2 separate regions of the Homo sapiens genome follow, and region 1 is linked to region 2. The links are contacts of gene promoters, found by promoter capture Hi-C in blood cells and fetal thymus (Javierre and others, 2016). All regions are on one chromosome and are shown on one strand. The core of a region is centred on a gene start or on the middle of the fragment in contact, and the rest is flanking DNA. Distances in the headings are between cores, read along the strand shown. Region 1 overlaps CAT (catalase). Region 2 holds the start of CAPRIN1 (cell cycle associated protein 1).

Region 1 (4,388 bases), core at 1,852-4,351, 410 kb after region 2:
TGGCTCTCAAGCTGGCCCCGCAGGACCTCCTGCTTGGTAAAGGTGCTCCCCAGGTGCTGCTAACTGGGCGCTTTTTTGCCCAGCAGTGAAGATTTAGGCTGCCTGAGGACTCTCCATGCTTTTTATCTATTTTATATATTTTATTGAGCATTTCCACCTCAGATGTTACTTGTATCCAGTAGTTAAAAGCAGGGAGAAAGATCTTTCACACTGGCTAGAGTACAGTAACATCCAGCTTGGGAGTTAGGTTTTGAAGACACTTCACCAAAATGGACAATTCCTTAACTCACTGTGAAATCACCAAGACTTAGACCCTTGGAAGTGCGAAAGCCAAGAGTTGGAGTCTTCTGTTTCTCTTTGCAGTTCTGCTGTGGCCCTGGAGGAGCAGGTCTAGCTAGAATTTGGAGGGGAGCTAGAATTAGCAGGGAAGGCTGGGGAGAAGAGAGTAGGGGAGGCAGAGCAAGTCAAAGGATTCCCCTCCCTTCATTTTTTCCTAAGTGAATAAAGTTAGGTGAATCAACTTACCACTTTTTGTTTTTTGGAACTCATTTATCAAACTTAGGATCTTTTTCTTTTAACTACTTTTTTTTTGGTGTCGTATACAAACAGCCTCTGGTTCTAATTACTTTTTCTAATAAGTCAAGCAGAATGCTTGATTAAAGTTTTTTCCTTTTACTATTCCACAGTTTAATATAGATCTTAGTTATTTTCTTTTCCCATTTAGGACACGTGTTTTAGTAATATAGACTGCATGCATTGATCCCTTTAGAAATTTTACTGATGATTTATATTTATAGCCACAGATGTCTATATTCAAACAAAGTTTATTTTTCTATGATAAAAATAATACAAGTGTCCTAAAGAAAATTTGGAATATATAGGAAAAAGAAGAAAAAAGAAAAATTCCCATATAGTCCCAACACCCAAAGGTCATAGCTATTACATTTTGCTATATTTATTTATCTATTTATTTATTTTTTAGACAGAGTCTCACTCTGTTGCCCAGGCTGGAGTGCAGTGCATGATCTTGGCTCACTGCAGCCTCTGCCTCTGGGTTCAAGAGATTCTCATGCCTCAGCCTCCCGAGTAGCTGGAAGTATAGGAGTGTGCCACCACGCCAGCTAATTTTTGTATTTTTAGTAGAGACAGGGTTTCATTGGCCAGGCTGGTCCTGAACTCTTGACCTCAGGTGACCCACCCACTTTGGCCCCCCAAAGTGCTGAGATTACAGGCATGAGCCACCGCGCCTGGCTTGATTGTAAAAGTAGAGCATTTGGGCTGTGACCCTGAAGCTCAGTGAAAGAGCTTAATTGTTCCTGTGGTCAGTGCTTTAAAGACAACTACCACTTTGAGTAAAGGTCAGGGCTCATTTGGAAGTAGGATTTTAAAAATTAACTAGGCACATTTCAAAGAGCTAGTTCTTAATGAAGAAAACACTGTGATGGCTGGTTTTTGGAGCATTTTGCTTTTCATGTAGATGTGACTGATCTGTTGAATTTGTTGAGTGAATAATTGGGCTCTATAATAGTATGGTGTTCTTCCTTCCCCTACACACACACTTGGTGTCTTGATGAATGTCATACATAGGCACCTCTTGATTATCCACTGTGGATAATCTATTACGGCAGTGAGCTGGCTAAAATTCCAACCCCAGATTGGTTTGCTCAAACCACTTAATATGTTTCTGGGCCACTCCTGTTTAGGCAGTGTGTGCTCGGGTAATGAAAGCTTCTGCTAATGTCAGCCAAAGCATAGTTGAGAAAATAAATATGCTAAAACGAAAAAAAAGCCTTATAATTTATTTCAAAAGTCATAGAAAATATTTTGATTGTATTTGTCACTGTTTCTTATAAGTCCAGATAAGTAAGTGCTGATATACAATTACCACATTTTAAAAAATTCTTTGTTTATTGGTCTGTGGAGGGTATGAAAGTGAAGCTACAATGGAACAAAGTCATCATTGTCAGTAAAGGAGAGATACCCTGAGAATCCTAAAAACACTTTACGGAATAGCAAAGTAGAGTTCTGTAATGGAAATACTGTATATGCTGGGCTGGAGGAGACAAAAAACCCAGAGTTCCAACCCCATATCTACCACTGGCTACCGTGTGACCTTGCAGCAGTCAGGTCCCATCACAGAGCTCCATGCTTGTGTCTGTAGATTCAAGGAGCAGAACCAGAACTTTCAGATTTCCCTCAAGAATTTTGTGATGCAGTGTTTGAATTGAGCCCAAGTCCAAATGACACAATTTTTCAAGTCAATTTTGAAATGTGTCTTTGAGCCTCATCCCTATATGGTGGCCAAATCAAGCCTGTATAAACTTCTACATGTGCTGTACCCCTCAGAAGACTTGATAGATGAGACCCTTTGAAGTGTCAAAAGGGACTTTGAGATTCATTCATAAAGTGCGGCAGCCTGTGCAAGCATTTAGCAGATGGCAGCGTTCCCTAAGAATCTTCATACTACCTGTAGCTAAATGCGGGAAATTAAAAATAATATGTGTGCGTTGTGTTTATATCTGTGTATGTGTACGTGTGTATTTGATTACCACTTGAATTTATTTCTCATCACAGTGATTATTTGCAGACTTACTTGACTTTTCTTATTCCTAAGTGCATCTGGGTGGTTTTGTTTTGAAGGTGGTGCTCCAAATTACTACCCCAACAGCTTTGGTGCTCCGGAACAACAGCCTTCTGCCCTGGAGCACAGCATCCAATATTCTGGAGAAGTGCGGAGATTCAACACTGCCAATGATGATAACGTTACTCAGGTAATGACTTCTCTTTATCTGCTATGGAAGTCACCTGCTAATTCTCCTTGTCAATGCCTGCATAATCCCCCTCCCTGCAAATGCCCCAACTGTCTGATGTATCTTAAATTGAATTCAAGGAAGACTCATCTGTAATAGTAAATTGGGCCCCTTACTGGGTGGAGTTGAAGGGTTATATTACTCTGGTCTTTTGCCTCAAAGCATGCAGACTCCGTCTCAGTTTCTTCAAACTTTATTGAAGGGATATGGGGAGGGGGCATTGGGGAAACAGTTATCTCATGGGAATTTAAGAAATGAGCATGTACAGCTTACGTGGAGACAAATCTAAGAATCTGGGCAGGACAGTCCAGGTTCAAGGACTAGAACTAGAGATCCAAAATAGCTCCAGGAGCCTCGGCCACAAGAGTGTGGGCGTTTCCACTGCAGGGCTCGTCCTTCACGTGGCTTATTCTCCATCTGTCTGCTTCTGCTTGCCAATGCTAATTGATTATTTTTACCACAGCTTCCTGTTTTCTCCTATCTGCGTCAGAGCTTCTGTTTTATCATGGTTGTGGCTCTTCCACAACAATGGAAAACTCTCCTTTATGGCGTCTTTCTCCATTATTACTTTTTTTTTTTGGACCACCTTTTACTCCTTCTCTCAACATGTCTATCTCTAGATTCTAGAGAGATGGAATCCTATTGACTTGGCTAATCTTTTCACCCCAGGTTGCACCATTGGCCTTGGTCAGGCTCTAGTTAACCGCCCCAGGGCAAATGCTCATCCTCTTTCCAGTTGCCTATGGCTGCCCTAAGAGCTGTTTCAGCACATGCTATGAAGGAGGCCCTTGGACTTGGAAGGGCTGTAGGTGGGCAGCTGCCTCCTTAATGTGTCCAGTGCAACTTATACCACACACAATAAAATAATAAAGTTAAAGGTATAGTTGTTCTAGAGCTCTGTTTGAGCAGTTAGTGTTAAACTTAGTATTTAAATTAGATTAGAACCTATTTCTAGTTTCTCAGTTTGTGAATGTGGGTTCCAAGTAAAAAATACTTATACATGAATTAATTCGCTGTGAGGATATCTTTGCTTGAAAAGCATTTACGTATATACATATATACGTATATATAAAAAAGAAATTACATTATTGTGGGATATAAACCATTTTTAGATGAGCTTAAAACATTTCCTGCATACCTTTTATGTAACTGCATTATTTTTGGTGATGCAGATGACACCAAGTATATTACAGTACATTCCCTGCCTCTCAAAGAATTTTGCCTATGTGAGGTCAATACAGGTATTAAACCAGCTCATACAACCCCTGCAAAAATTAATGAGGCTATTGCTTACACATGAAAATTTATTATGTGCTCATTCTTATTGAGAGAATTTCTTATCACTATATAGGATATAGTGTGGTTTTTAAGTAATCACAATACTATTGTTATAGATTCATAGCATAATTCTGTGATGATGTATCACATGGGAAATACATAAGAAGGTCCAGATTTATTCTCTTAAAAATGATTCACTTGGGCTTGCATCTGTCTATGGCAGACTAGCTTGTATCTTACTTACCGTTTCATGGAGAACATTGAAAAGGTAGGTAAAATACATAAAGCACTTGTTTGAAG
Region 2 (4,168 bases), core at 1,270-3,769:
CATCTGATAGAATACCATCTCTTGACTCCCTTATAGTTGGATAGGGTCATGTGACTCTTTTTGGCCAATGAATTTAAGCAGATGTGATGCATATCTACTTGTCTAAAGCATTTAATTGACTGAGATATTCCTGAGTTCTCTTGTGGTACAGTGATCAGCAACACTTGAGATATGGCATCAGCATGAATCTACTGAGTGACTACTACGAACAGGGCCCTCTGTTGAACTGTGATGGATGTGTACCATTTGCAGTTGTTTTTTGTTTTTTGAGACAGTCTCACTCTGTTGCTTAGGCTGGAATGCAGTGGCACAATCTTGGCTCACTGCAGCCTCTGCCTCCCGGGTTCTCGTGCCTCAACCTCCTGAGCAGCTGTAATTACAGGCATGCGCCACCACACCCAGCAAATTTTTTTGTATTTTTAGTAGAGACAGGATTTGCCATATTGGCCAGGCTGGTCTCGAACTCCTGACCTCAAGTGATCTGCCAGCCTTGGCTTCCCAAAGTGTTGGAATTACAGGCATGAGCCCCTTCACCTGGCCCCTTTGTAGTTTTAAACCAGGGATTGGCAAACACTTTTTTTGTAAAAGAAGAGATAGTATTCTAGGTTTTGCACACCCTACTGTCTGTTGCACACCCAAGTACTCAACTCTGCTGTGCTATGGCAGAGAGGCAGTCATAGAATGGATGTGCATAGATGGATTGGATGTCTCCCAATAAAACTTTAGACATTGGTCAATTCCGAGGAACAAAACAGTGATTTCTGAAACTTTAATGTACACACAAATCTCCTGAAGATCTTGTTAAAATGTAGATTCAGTTAAGTCTGCTATGCAGTCCAAGATAGTAGTGATAGTGGTAGTGAGAGAGGTTGGGCTGAATAAACTTTGAGTTGCAAGGAGCTAAAGGATTATCATCTCCGTTTCTAGCCTCTAGGCCTGGCATAATTGCTCAGCGTAGTGCTAAGGATGGTTTAGGTGACTAAATTTTGAAACTATGACTCCCCATCTAATGCAGCAAAAGCCAAAGTCCTTACCGTGGTCTTTCAGGCCCTACAAGACCAGCCCCCTTTAATATGTTTGACCTCATCTCCTACTCTCTGCTCTTGCCACTATGGTTTCCGTGCTGTTCCTTGAACCCAAAAAGCACACTCCGTCTCAGATCTTAGTACTTGGTGTTTCCTCTACCTGGAAAATTCCTCCTCCAAGGTAGCTGCTTAGCCTTCTTCCTCACTTCCTTCAGTACTAGCTCAAATGTCAGTAAGGCTTTCCCTGACCACCGTTTTTTCTTTTCTCTACCATTTCACTATCTGACATGTATTTACTTGTCTTCCCCTTACTTAGATTGTAAGCTCCATGTAAATATGTTTTGTTCATAATCCCTAGCACTTAAGAGTTCCCAGCACACAGTAAGGTGCTTAATAAATATTTGAATGAATATATAACAGACTTTGCAGCTAACCAGGATATCTTGAGGTCGGAGGCTGCTGTTGTTTCTCCAGGCTCCCTCAGGATGCACTGTTGCCAGTCAGCGTTACTCATTTTATTCCCTAGGGAACAGTGGGTTTGGTAGAACTCTCTTCTAAATCTCTTTTTCATAGAATTTAAATTATAAATTGGTCATTTACTGTTGTCACACAATATTGCGTTGCTGAATTTTCCACTGATTATATTCATTTTATTTCCTCCCAGAACTTGGTTTCTTGTTTTTCTGCTCACTGTCCACACCCACTCCACCCCAAGGCTGGAATAATTCTCTTGGAGCAAAAAAATCATCTTTTTCTTTGTATTTCATTGAACGTTCTCTTTACAGTGTTAGGTAAACCTAAAAAAAAAGGAAACAAAAGTCTAATAATTCGTAATACTCAGGCCTACTGGATGTATAACATCATAGGGTAGCTGAAGACTCTTTGTGAGGCCAGAGCTTTAGGATTTAAAAAGCCACCAACCATGACCGTGTCCGACACGTTCTACAGAGAACTCCTAGGTTACTGGGTGATTGTTTGGTGGGGAAGCGGCGAGTTGTCTTTTTTTCAAAAGACGTTTTGGGGTATGGAGTTTGCTCGCTCTGCATACAGAAGGAATTCTAGAAGCTGGGATCGCACCACCCACCCCACGCACCCCTTACTTGCAGAAACCTTTGCCCCCCAACCCCCACCCCCACCCCAAATAAGGGCTCTTCAAGGGGCAGTTGCCAGCTCCAGAGCCAGCTGCTTGACACCTATTGTCCCCGTTTGGGCGTCAAACGATTTCGCCTGAAGGACCCTAGCGTCGATTGCTCTCAAAACTCAAGGGGCCTTTCCTTCGGCCTTGCCGGGGCCATCCCCACCTGCGTCCAGGAGGCGCCCCACAGCGCCGGGGCCGGGGGACGGCGGAGAAGCTAGCGGGCGGCCTCTTCCGGGCAGGCGTTCGCGCCGGGCAGCCCGAGCGGCCGCGAAGGCCCCCGCTCTCCGCTTCTCCCGCCCCTCGCGACCCAGAGGGCTGCTGGCTGGCTAAGTCCCTCCCGCTCCCGGCTCTCGCCTCACTAGGAGCGGCTCTCGGTGCAGCGGGACAGGGCGAAGCGGCCTGCGCCCACGGAGCGCGCGACACTGCCCGGAAGGGACCACCACCCTTGCCCCCTCAGCTGCCCACTCGTGATTTCCAGCGGCCTCCGCGCGCGCACGGTGAGCGCCACCCGGGACCGAGCCGCTGCAGGGGAAGAGGGCCGCTGCGCCCGGGTGTCCTTTATCTCCGGACCCGCTGGAGCTTCCGAGGGGCTTGCCCCCAAGTCCCCCCACCCCACCCCGGTCATTTCCCATGCCCTTCTCTGCCCCCAAGCCCCGACCTCTCTCTTTCCTCCCTTCTCCGGAAGCCGGCAAAAGCCGGCCCTCCCCGGTAGGGACCGTTGCAGTGGCCGTTGGCGGCCGGCGCGGCGATGCCCCGCCTCCGGCGCGAGCCTCGGAGCCCCCGGGCTGGTAGGCCGAGCCGGCGGCTCCGCGGGGGAGGGGCGGGTCGGGGGGCGGTGCGAGGCCCAGCCGGGCGCCCCGCTGGCGGGTCGCGCGCGCGCCCGCGCACTCTTCCTGCCCTCGAGGCGCGCCGCGCCCCCTCCCCCACCCGCTCGCGTAGGCTACCGCTCGCTGCGCGTTTTGTCCCGCGTCTCGCCCCGTCCGTCTCCTGACTGGCCGCTCTTGTCCTTCCTCCCGCTTTTTCTTCTCTCTCCTTGCGGTCTGAAGATGCCCTCGGCCACCAGCCACAGCGGGAGCGGCAGCAAGTCGTCCGGACCGCCACCGCCGTCGGGTTCCTCCGGGAGTGAGGCGGCCGCGGGAGCCGGGGCCGCCGCGCCGGCTTCTCAGCACCCCGCAACCGGCACCGGCGCTGTCCAGACCGAGGCCATGAAGCAGATTCTCGGGGTGATCGACAAGAAACTTCGGAACCTGGAGAAGAAAAAGGTGCCAGGAGTTGGCGGGGAAGGGAGGGGTGGCTGCGGCCGGGCTCTGCGGCCCCTCCGACCCTGGTCGCTGGAGCCTTCGCTTCTTTTCGTCTCGGGAGCGTTACTAGGTCCCCTCCTCCCACCCCCTGGCCCACACGCCCCGTCTCCACGTTCAGCGGGAGCTTCGTGCCCAGAAAACGGGCTCTTGGAAGAGGCACTTGTCACCTGACTCGGACGCGGCACTGTACCCCAGGCCTCTTTATTACTCTTCCGCTGTGGGTCCGGCTTTTTGGCCTTTAGGAGTGGGACATGTGAGGGTGGGGGCCTGTCGTCAGGACTTCACTGTATGGTGCCCTTCTTTCCGTCTCTGAGGCCCGATTTCTCTGACGAGGGCCCAAAATGAAGAGGTCCCTGCGCGGGGGGCTCCGGGTTCAACCGACCGCCTCGTGGAGTTGGGGCGGCCTGCGTCCTGCAGCCTTGGGGTCTGTCCGCTCGGTTACCATGCACTCGAGACCTGTCGAGCGTCCCCTCTTCTTCCGTAGGAGAGAAGTGTGTTTAGAATCTTAAGGTAGAACTGCCTTTCCGGCAGGCCCATTTTGAATGGGTCTTCGATTTGCTACCCCCGCGCCCATGCGATGGGCTCCCCTGCGTTTCCCTCTTTGTTTCAATTGTTTAGGTGTCCCCCCGAGCCTCAGGCTCAGCTCAATCGCGAGATGATTTTCTGCAGCGACTTTTTGTTCCTAGGGGACTGTGAAGGGGCGG

The links. The method cuts DNA at HindIII sites, captures the fragments that hold promoters and counts their contacts. A CHiCAGO score of 5 or more calls a contact.
Region 1: a contact is called between a fragment that was not itself captured here and the fragment with the promoter of CAPRIN1 in region 2, in 2 of 17 cell types (monocytes and fetal thymus). The highest score is 5.4, in monocytes.

What each region holds. Positions count from the first base shown.
Region 1 is chr11:34,461,465-34,465,852 of GRCh38, forward strand. It overlaps CAT (catalase), which reads left to right. Exons shown (of 13, transcript NM_001752.4): 10 at 2,641-2,771. Among named protein-coding and RNA genes, the nearest start is that of CAT, 25 kb to the left of the region's middle. The HindIII fragment of the contact is 2,751 bases long and covers 1,727-4,388 here.
Region 2 is chr11:34,049,212-34,053,379 of GRCh38, forward strand. It overlaps CAPRIN1 (cell cycle associated protein 1), which reads left to right and starts at 2,520. Exons shown (of 19, transcript NM_005898.5): 1 at 2,520-2,660; 2 at 3,210-3,425. The coding sequence starts at 3,210. LOC101929918 (a long non-coding RNA gene) reads right to left here and starts at 4,116. Exons shown (of 3, transcript XR_931177.3): 1 at 3,108-4,116; 2 at 1,460-1,822. RefSeq lists silencers at 2,175-2,374, 2,234-2,783, 2,824-3,123 and enhancers at 3,734-3,803, 3,874-3,943, 4,014-4,083, 4,114-4,168. The HindIII fragment of the contact is 10,606 bases long and covers 1-4,168 here.